2 separate regions of the Homo sapiens genome follow, and region 1 is linked to region 2. Evidence: promoter capture Hi-C in 16 types of primary human blood cells and fetal thymus (Javierre and others, 2016). All regions are on one chromosome and are shown on one strand. The core of a region is centred on a gene start or on the middle of the fragment in contact, and the rest is flanking DNA. Distances in the headings are between cores, read along the strand shown. Region 1 has its middle 26 kb from the start of DHRS2. Region 2 holds the start of RABGGTA (Rab geranylgeranyltransferase subunit alpha).

Evidence for each region. Contacts are between HindIII fragments. The CHiCAGO score rates a contact against its expected background, and 5 or more counts as called.
Region 1: a fragment that was not itself captured here is called in contact with the fragment with the promoter of RABGGTA in region 2 in 1 of 17 cell types (total CD4 T cells); the score reaches 7.0 in total CD4 T cells.

Annotation. Positions count from the first base shown.
Region 1 is chr14:23,607,963-23,613,334 of GRCh38, forward strand. No RefSeq gene overlaps it. Among named protein-coding and RNA genes, the nearest start is that of DHRS2, 26 kb to the right of the region's middle. The HindIII fragment of the contact is 2,476 bases long and covers 1,013-3,488 here.
Region 2 is chr14:24,270,347-24,275,881 of GRCh38, forward strand. RABGGTA (Rab geranylgeranyltransferase subunit alpha) reads right to left here and starts at 1,251. Exons shown (of 17, transcript NM_182836.3): 1 at 1,141-1,251; 2 at 767-823; 3 at 491-601; 4 at 1-112. The coding sequence starts at 769. It also overlaps a transcript of NOP9 not described here. RefSeq lists enhancers at 569-778, 1,519-1,598, 3,477-3,536, 3,577-3,706, 4,057-4,156 and 1 more and silencers at 969-1,258, 1,329-1,428. The HindIII fragment of the contact is 2,930 bases long and covers 1-1,915 here.

The DNA.
Region 1 (5,372 bases), core at 1,001-3,500, 660 kb before region 2:
CTTTGGGAGGCCGAGGCGGGTGGATGGTCTGAGGTCAGGAATTCGAGACCGGTCTGGCCAATGTGGCAAAATCCTGTTTCTACTAAAAATACAAAAAAAAAAAAAAATTAGCCAGTCATGGTGGTGCACACTTGTAGTCCCAGCTACTTGGGAAGCTGAGGCAGGAGAGTTGCTTGAACCCGGGAGGCAGAGGTTGCAGTGAGACGAGATTGCGCCACTCCACTCCAGACTGGGTGACAGAGCAAGAGTTCATCTCAAAAAACAAGCAAACAAAAAAAGAATATTCTTCATATTTTAAAAATGGCTGAAAATAAAACCGAAAAGGAAGATATATCTCATGGCACATGAAAATTATAAAACACTCAAACTCCAGTGTCCATGAATAAAGTTTTATTGCAATGTGGTCATCCTTATTCATTTATATATTGTTTATGTCTGCTCTTGCAGTACAATGGCAGAGTTGAGGAGTTATAACAGAGACCATATGGCCTGCAAAGCTTAAACTACTTCATGTCCAGCTCTTTACAGAAAAAGTTTGCTAAGCCCTAGGCTAGAGTCCTCCTGGAGGGACATTGACAGGAGCTGGAAACAGGAGGAAAACCCTTCTCTCACCCTATGTCCTTCAGCCACGTCTCAGTGCCTCTTAGTAGCAGAATTGAATAGGAAGCCAGCTGGCAAGAGAGAGTCTGGGAAAGGCTGTTGGCAGTCCCTTGGCCCTCACACCACAGGGGAGGGTGGCATGGGCCCAAGAGGCAACAGGCAAACAGCACAACTTACAAGTATCTTATACTGGCCTTTTCCTCTTCTGTCTCTGCCCTCCCTCCCTTAGTAATCCTATCCACAGTCATGGCTTCTATCACATCTCTGTAGACAATGCACACATCCATGGCTCCATGCTTGAATTCTGTTATCAGTCTTGCATTTCTAACTGCCTTCTTGACAACTCCATTTAGAAGGCTTCCCTTCATCTCAAAGTCACCATGTCAATAGGTAGAATTCATATTTTCTATCAAGCTTGTTTCTTCTCCTCTGTTACCTATTTTTGTTGGCAATGCCACCATTGTCCCTGGCTTCATGTTTGGATCCTCTCTGTCTCTTTTCTCTCGTGTCAAAGCATTTAGAAAGACCAGATCTTTCTCTGTAAGACTTCGCAACTATTCTCTACTTTCCCTTCCCAGCACCATCACCTGGGGTTGTGCCACCATTACCTCTTGCCTGGATTATAGATATGACCTCATAATGGGTATTACCCTACACAAGTTTCATTCCAATTCCTCTCACACATAGTTGCCAGATTAATCTTCTGAATCATCAGATTCAAAGTCCTTTTGGTTTCCCTTTGTTTATGCATTGGCCAGAAATTCAAAATTTTATACAGTTCTGTATTAGTTCATTTTCACGCTGCTGATAAAACATACCCAAGACTGGGTGATTTATAAAGAAAAAGAGGTTTAATGGACTCACAGTTCCATATGGCTGGGGAGGCCTCACAGTCATGGCAGAAGACCAAGGAAGAGCAAAGGGACTTCTTACATGGTGGCAGGCAAGATAGAGAGCCATGCAAAAGGGGAAGCCCCTTATAAAAACATCAGATCTCGTGAGACTTATTCACTATCATGAGAACAGTATGGGGACATAGCCAAACCATGTCATTCTACTCCTGCGGTTTTGCAAGGTACAAAGTCCCTCCCGGCTGCTTTTATGGGCTGGTGTTGAGTGTCTGCGGCTTTTCCAGGTGCATGGTGCAAGCTGTTGGTGGATCTACCATTCTAGGGTCTGGAGGATGGTGCTCCACTAGGCAGTGCCCCAGTGGGGACTTTGTGTGGGGGCTTCAACCCTACATTTCCAGGCCCCGACTGCTGTGTATGGAAATGCCTGGATGTCCAGGCAGAAGTTTGCTGCAGGGGCAGGGCCCTCATGGAGAGCCTCTGCTAGGGCAGTGCAGAAGCGAGATGTGGGGAGGTACAATTCAAGATGAGTTTTGGGTGGGGACGCAGCCAAACCATATCAAGTCCCAGTGACTACAGTTTGGTTTTCCAAATTTGTTTCCTATTTCTTTCTTTCCTGTCCTCTTCCTTTCCAATACTTTCATATAGCCTCTTGTTCCTTCAGGTTCTGTGCACTTTATTTATACTCTCCCCTCTGCCAGAAATGTTTTTGGTACTTTTTAGGATTAGGTTAAGTTATGAGTGAGAGAAAACCCAGTGTAAGGGGCCCATTGAGGTTGCACCAGAGCCCCTGTGACCCGTTTAATCATCTCCCACAGCTTCTGCACATCGAGAGAAGCAGGGGCAGCCTTTAGCTGAACTAGGTAACAGCCTAGTTCCATTGTCTGAAATCTGGGCAAACTGTGAGGTGTAGTTTACACTCCAGAACTGACCTTTGGGACCAGGCTAAGGCTGGGGCTTTGCTGAAACATTCCCTTGCTTGTCCTCCTCCCTTCCCTGTCTTACTTTCCACACTCCCTTACTGGTTTCTCCTGGGAGCATTTTTTTAATTTTTATTTTTGAGACAAGGTCTCACTTTGCCACTAAGGCTGGAGTGCAGTGGCATAATCATAGCTCACTGTAACCTCAAACTACTATGCTCAAAGGAACTTCCTGCCTCAGCTTCCTGAGTAGCTGGGACTACAGGCACACATGACCTGATCAGCTAATTTTTAAATTTTTTGTAGAGACAGGGGTCTCACTATGTTACTCAGGCTGGTCTGAAACTTCTGGCCTCAAGCAATCCTCCTGTCTTGGTCTCCCAAAGTTCTGGGATTATAGATAGGAGCCATTGCTCCCTGCTGGGAGCATCTGTTTAATAAACTACTTGCACATAAAGCCTTGTCTTAGGATCTGCTGTGGTAACCCAACCTAAGACACTTGTAACAGTGGCTTAAACAAGACTGTAGCGGGCCTCATATCGTGCCTTCGTGATCAGACTGCCTCAACATTGTAGTCCACATCCTCAACATGTGCCTTCTGAGGCCAAAGATAGCTGCTTTGTCTCCAGTCATCAGAGTCATGTTCTAGACAGCAGGAGGGAGACAAAGAAAGGAGGTGGGCATGCTCCTTCCACTTGAGAACACCTCATGGAAGTTTCATCCCTGACTTCTCTATAACCTTTTATGCAGAACATGGTCAGGTAGCCGTGCCTGGCTGCAAGGGCAGCTGGGAAATATAGCCTTTATTCTCAGTGGTCAATTGCACAGCTAACATTTTGGAATATGATTACTGTGGAAGAAGAGGAAACAGACATTAGGAGACAACTTGTAGTTTCAGTTACATGCTCCTTCTCATCTCTGCCTGTCCAGAGTCTTCCAAACCCAGTGCAAATGCCACTTTCACCTCAAATCCTTCCTTGAGCTACTAGTTAAAAGTTATCACTCCCTCATGGCACTTTGTGTGCCCTTTCCTTGTGACACCGCAGTTTTTCTACCTGGCTTGTAGTTACTTAAATATGCCTTCCCCACAGGACTGTAGACATCTTTAGAGTAGAGGGCAAGCTTCAGTGAATTTCTGAGTTGAAAATTGAAATACTACAATCCCATACTCTGGAGAGTGTGGTTTTGGAGCCCGACCAATCTGGTTCAAAGGCAAGCTTTATCTTTAAACCAGTTATACAACATTCATTTGCTTATTCTACAAATATTTATTGGTGCTTCCCCTCTGTCGGGCACTATTACAGGTGCTGGAAACTTGGTGGAGAACAATACAAATAAGCACCCCACTCCCATGAAGGTCATAAAGGATGAGGGTTAAGAGCACAGATTCGGCCAGGCACGGTGGCTCATGCCTGTAATCCCAGCACTTTGGGAGGCCAAGGTGGGCAGATCACCTGAGATCAGGAATTCGAGACCAGCCTGGCCAATGTGGTGAAACCCTGTCTCTACTAAAAGTACAAAAATTAGCTGGGCGTGGTAGCACACGCCTGTAATCCCAGCTATTCAGTAGGCTGAGGCAGGAGAATTGCTTGAACCCGGCAGGTGGAGGTTGCAGTGAGCCGAGATCACGCCACTGCACTCCAGCTTGGGCGATAAGAGCGAGACTCCGTCTCAAAAAAAAAAAAAAAAAAAAAAGAGCACAGACTCCATAGCCAGACTGCCTGGGCTTGCATCCCAGCTTCACGACTTACAAGCTGTGTGACCATAGATAAGTTACCTTGCCTCTCTGTTGCTCAGTTTTATCTTCTGAAACACAGAGATGTTCAGAGTGCAACTTTTCAGGATAGTGGTGGAGACTAAGTGAGTTTACACATATAAAGTACTTAGAACAGTGCCTGGCACAAAATAAGGACTACGTAAGTGTTAGTTATTAGTATAAGCTTGCAGAGCTTACATTCCAGTAGGTGAGGAAATAACCTAAACAAACAAACAAAAAATATTAGGCAGGTGATAAGTGCCATGAAGAAAATAAAAGAGAAAAGTGGGAGAGAGCGCTGCTGAGGATCTGTCTCATACCAGGTGAACAGGGAATGTCTCTATGAGGGTTGACATTTAACAGCAATGAAGTGTTTGTGGGAAGAGCTTTCAAGGGCCAGCAGATACAGGGACTGTGAAGGCAGGCCTGACCTGGCCGGCTGGAGGCTGAAGCACGCAGGTGGAGGGGAAAGTGCAGTAGGATGGTCTGGGAAGAGCTTGGGGCCAGACACCGTGGGGGCTCTGTAAGTTGGGGAAATAATTTGGATTTGATTCTTAGTACAATGGCAAGCCATTGCAGAGTTTTAAGCAGTGGAGACTGATGTTTAAAATGCTAATGCTGTCTGCAGGTGGAAAGAGAATAGCTTGTGAGAGTGTATGAGTGGAATGAAGTGGTCAGATGAGAGAGCGCGGCGGAGATGGAGAGAAGCGGAGAACTTGATGCATATTTTGGAGGCAAAATCAACAAGATTGGCTGATGGATTAAAAGCAGAAGGTAAGGTGAAGAGAAAACTCAAGGGACACTCAAATTTTTGGCTAGAACACTTTTCGGAGATGGGGAGATGTAGAGAGAGAGGTGGGTGGGAATCAAGAATTCTACTTTGGTTACATTCAGTTGGGCAAATCACTTCAGCTCTCTAGGCTTCAGTTTCCTTATCTAGAGTAGGAAAATAATAATAATAATGTCCTCTTCTGTGGACAGAAGAGCACTGTGGTTAAGGGAAGAGAAGCCTGGGCTGTTTACTAGCTATGTGACCATGTGCCAATTACATTATCTCTCTGTGTCTCAGTTTCCTCATCTGTAAAATCAGAACAATCCTAGTACCTATCTCAAATGGTTGTTATGAAGAGTAAAAGATTTAATATTTACAAAGTGCCTAAAATAGTTTCTGGCACATGGTAAAGCTACAGTAGAATCATAGATATATAAAAACAAATAGGGTAGGCCGGGTGTGGTGGCTCATGCCTG
Region 2 (5,535 bases), core at 1-2,500:
GCTGCTGGAGCACCTCTCGTCGGCAGTTCCAGAGGGTGGCAAAATCAGGGTTGGCTCCCAGAATCTGGCTTGTCAGTTCCAGCACGGACTCATCCAGCTCACCAGCCTGGCGCTAAGAAGATAGGTGGCAGGGTTAGAGATCATATAATTTTCCCACTACAGGACTAAATAACGTAAACTTAAAACCATCCAATATTCTGTGAATCCCACATTATACAACAGGTACTATGAACCATGCTTTATGGCCTTACAGGTATTCTCTCATTTAATCTTCACAACAGCCTTATGCAGTAGGTGCAATTATTAGCCCCATTTTACAGATGAGCAAACTGAGGCCCAAAGAGATTCAGCAACTTGCCCAAAGTCATACAGTTATAAGTGAGATAACCCAGAATTGGATCTAGGCAGTCTGACTCTAGGGACCAGCTCTTGGCCTCTGCACTATACTAAGGGAGCTACTTGGGGTCGGGGCTACCTCTGAGGGCCCCACCTTCTGGAATACGGCCTGGGTGGCTGACTGGTATAGCTTCAGCTTCTGCTCTCGCTCTAGCCTTTTGGCCTCCGCCTGCTCTTCTGACGTCTTCACCTTCAGGCGTCCGTGCTACAAGGATGAACGGGTTGGAAGAGTGCAGGTTGCCTTGCAGAAGCTGACCTGCAAAAACCCCACACTGTGGAGCCCTAGGTTCATACGGGGCAACCATGGCACTGCCACTGGGGGTGAGGGCGCGGGCCTGCGGAGGTGAAGGGCTGGGCTCAGGGTTCTCACCATGGTGCCGGCTCAGGGTTCAAGACAGGGGAAGGGTCCAGTGGTAGCCCTTGAAGTCTGAGGAGAGAAGTGTCAATCACGTAGCCCCGCCCCTACTAGCTCCGCCCACAGCTGTGTCCGGAAGCAGCAAGCGTGCCTGGGCAGAGACCCCCAGAGTGTAAAGAGGTCCTGGGACAGGCTTTGCACGTTCCACAAGAGGTGAGCACCCGGACTAGGACTTCCATCCGTGTGGCCCTTCCTATAGCCCGATTCGCCCGGGCCAGAGCGCGAGCCGGGGCACCTGGGCGTTGGGGACCACTCTGCTCCCCAAAGGTTGCCGCTACCCGCCCGTCCCACGGCTCCCGGGCACCCCCGCCCCCCGCGGGCGGACCCACCTGCGCTGGGAGGAGGCGCGGGGGACGCGGAGCTGCGGCGCCCGCCACAGAGCCCAGGCGCTGGCTAGAGCGGCGCCACGTCCCGGCTCATCGAAACGCAGCGCACTCTGCAGGCTTGGGGAGGGACTTGCGGCGGAAGAGGCCGGCTCGGAGGCGCGTGCGCGGGGGCTCTGCGCTCGCTGTCCGGAAACGCCTCGTACCTGTTAGCCACCTGGTGTGTACGAGTGCGCACGGGCGACTGTAGCGTGCGTGTGAAATGGGGGGAGGACCATGCCAGTTGGTAACTCAGAGTGCAATGTAGTTAGTGGAAGAGGTTTCTCCAACAGCCGGAAACCCGCACCTTCACTACTCCACTGACCTCACCCTGGCCACACCGACAGCCTTCTAGATGTCAAATCTAACAGGGGGAGTTTCCTGTCATTTTCTCTAACCTCTGAAGCATTTGACGCTACCCATTTCTTTATACTTGACACCCCCATTCTGGCTTCTCCTCCTGCACCTCTGCCTCTCTCTTCTCATCTGTTCACCTCCACCCCTAAATGTTGGTGATCTCCAGGGCCCTTTCCTCACCCCTTTTTCACTTCACCCACTGTTCCTGGGAGAATGTTTAAATGTAAGCCTTCAACTGCTTCGAGTTGGAGCTCCTCAGAGCTGTTTTGGCCCACAAATCTGGCATTACACTTTCTCTGGGTGAGTTCATCCACACTCATTGTTTTAATTACTACCTGTAAATTGATGACACCCAAATTTATATCTCCAGCCCAGATGTCTTGCAAGCTTAAATAACAATAAATAATATACATGCACATACATATTCAAACACCTGTTGGATATCACCTGGTGTCCCAGAGACACCTCAAACTCCAAAAGCCAAAAGGTATAAATTATCTTTCATCCATCCTGTCTAAACATTGGCCTTTATGTTTTCTATTGTAGTGAATGGCACTATTTCCTCCTCACTTCTTAAACTCGCTTAAATACTCTTTCTCTTCCCACTGCCACTAGGAGTTCAAACTCCGAATTTCTTCTCCAGATTGTTGAAAGTCTTTTCAGTGTTCTCCACCTCATCCCTTGTTATCAGTCCATCCTCTGTGCTACTGAATCCATTTTTCTAAAATGCAGATTTGACGTCATATCTGTGCCTAAAAGTGCTGAGTGGCTCCTTTTCAGGATAGAATTGTAATCTCTCAGCTCAGCACATCAGACCTATTGGCATTTGGGCTCTGCCTACTCTCTGGCTGTATATCCTGCCTGACCCTGCCAAAAACTCTTCATGACAGCCTACAGAAATACTTGCAGTTTCCTAAATATGTTAGCCTGTTCCCTCTTGACTCTCCTTTCTCCACACTCCTCCTTTGCCACAGTAATTCCTGTTTATCTTTAAGATTTAACTTTTTGAACTCCACAGTACAAAGAAAAAAAAATGTAACTCAAGTGGCACCTCGAGGAAGTTCTCTAAAATGCCCCAGTCTGATTTGATAGACCTTCATATGTACTTTTAAAGACTGTGATTTTTTTCCCTGTGCCTACTGCAAAGAAGGTTTTCTGGTGGAGCCTTTATGAGGTTCAGGGTGGCTAGTGAGTGTGTGTGTACCACACGTACACGTGTGTGATGTCTTTGCGAATAGTGTGTCCATGTGGCATGTGTGTGTTTATAACTCACACCTGGGTAAGAAGGTAGTGCTTTAAATTTTTTTTTTTTTTTTTTTTGAGACAGGGTCTCACTCTGTTGCCCAGGCAGGAGTGCAGTGGCACGATCTCTGCTTACTGCAACCTCTGCCTCCTGGGTTCAAGCGATTCTCCTGCCTCAGCCTCTGGAGTAGCTGGGACTACAGGCATGCACCACCACACCCGACTGATTTTTGTAGTTTTAGAAGAGACGGGGTTTCACCATGTTGGCCAGGCTGGTCTCAAACTCCTGACTTCAGGTGATCTGCCCACCTTGGCCTCCCAGAGTGCTGGGATTACAGGTGTGAGCCACCATGCCCCGCCAGTGCTTTAAATCTTTATATATCCTTCACACCTCTCTCAGCCCCTGGAAATGTATGTAAAGTGTCCATTATATACTTGTCCTTTCCTAGATCCTATAACAAATTCTCGAAAAGAGACATTTTTCCTATCCCTGTGTATTTGTAGTCCCAGTGAGGAAAGAGTTAAGCCATTTATTGGTTCTCTTTGTGCCAGCCACTGTGATGGGAGTTTTGCATACATAGGAGGGATGTGCACACACACAGAATTACAGGTAGGAGGCAGTAAGCAGAGTGATTAAGAACATGGATCCTGGAGCCAGACTGCCTGGCTACAAATCCTAGCTTTGCCACTTGCTTGTCCCAGTGTGACCTGGGGCAAGTTACTTAACTTCTGTATTGCGTTTCCTCTATGTCTGAATTTCTTCAACAGTAACATAGGAAAAATATTATCTAGCTGCTGCAGTTGAAGTTAATCTGTTGAAGTTAAGCTGAAATAAAAGAATCTATGTAAAGTGCTTAGAATAGTGTCTGTACTAAGTAAGGGCTCAGTATAGTAATAGGAAGCTGAGGCTCAGAAAGATTAAGTAACTTGTTGAGGGCCACCCATGTAATAAGTGGCCAAATGGGACCTGTGTCTAGTCTGGTCCAGCCCTCCCACCTCACCACCAGCCTTCTTTTGTTGGTGGTCACCTCCTTCTCTAGCTTCCTGCTCTGTGCACACTCATAGGCGCAACCAGATACTTGGGAACACAGATGCCCTCAAGTGCAGATTTGCCAGGTACAGCCTTGCATCATAGTCACTAATCACATTGTGATTAGCAATCTTGAAACTGGGAAGGTTGAGTCAAGCAGGCTTAAGAGAGGAAGTGAGTCTCATGAAAAAATCTGCATCAGAGAAGGCAGGGCTTGAGTTTTGGAAAGAGCGGGCAGGAAGGGTATTTCAGGTATGTAATATGACGTGAAGGTGGGGGAGAGAAAGCCAAACTAACTTAGCTGGCTGGCACAGAGAGGCTGAGCCAGGTGCCTTTGGAGATAAGAGCAGTGGAACTGATGATAATAAGCCTCTTGCTTGAAGGCAAAAGGAGTTGTCAGGAGTTATATTTGGCCTCCTATGTGGGATAAGTGGGAACCATGCAGGTGTCTGAGAGCCACAATCTTTTTTTTTTTTTTTTGAGACGGAGTCTCGTTCTGTCACCCACGCTGGAGTAGTGGTGCGGTGTCTGCTCACTGCCAGCTCTGCCTCCCAGGTTCATGCCATTCTCCTGCCTCAGCCTCCTGAGTAGCTGGGACTACAGGCGCCTGCCACCCTGCCCAGCTAATTTTTTGTATTTTTAGTAGAGACGGGGTTTCACCTTGTTAGCCAGGATGGTCTCGATCTCCTGACCTCGTGATCTGCCTGCCTCGGCCTCCCAAAGTGCTAGGATTACAGGCGTGAGCCACCATGTCCGGCTTTTTTTTTTTTTTTTTTTTTGAGACAAATTTTGCTTTTGTTGCCCAGGCTGGAATGATGCAATGGCACCATCTTGGCTCACTGCAACTTGTGCCTCCCGGGTTCAAGCGATTCTCCTGCCTCAGTCTCCCGAGTAGCTGGGATTACAGGCATGCACCACCATGCCCAGCTAATTTTGTATTTTTTGTAGAGACAGGGTTTCTCCTTGTTGGTCAGGCTGGTCTTGAACTCCCGACCTCAGGTGAGCTGCCTGCCTCGGCCTCCCAAAGTGCTGGGATTATAGGCGTGAGCCACCGTGCCCTGAAAGCCACAATCTAAATGATGTTTGAAGAAGAGATTTTTACTGCCCTCTATGTATAGAAAGAAACAAACAGTAATTGAGTATCAACAGAGCCCCAGACATCTTATTTACTGCACTCACTACCTATATGAAATAGGTATTATCCATATTTTACAATGAAGCAACAGGGAATACAGTGGGTTTGCAGAGGTTAGTTTCTTGTCCAAAGTCACACATCTTCGAGATTCAGAATTGAGTCGGCTGTATAGGTGAGAGTGACCATTGCCAGAGGCCTGAACCTGAGTTTCTTGAGACCTGGAACCCTGGCGTCTTTCCACCCCTGCCAATTCTTTCTCTACTCCTGCTCCCAACATACATACACAGAAGCACACACACATAGTCACTTACAATGGCTCCAGGACCCTGAGCCCGTCACAGACCAGAGAGTCTGGAGGGAGGAAAGGGGGCCACGAGCCCTGGGTCAGGGCCCTGGGCCAGGGCCCTGGGTCAAAGCTTGGCTAGAAGCCATGGTCTGACGGCAGGGGGAGCAAGTGCGAGACAGGTAATGGAGCTGTCTCCGGGCCATGTGCAGTGTGTGGTAGTGTGTGCATTTATTCAGTCTCTTGATGTTCAGCATCAGTGCTGGGCCTCACAGCATGTTGGGTGCCAGGGATCCAGTAGTGGACCAGAAAGAC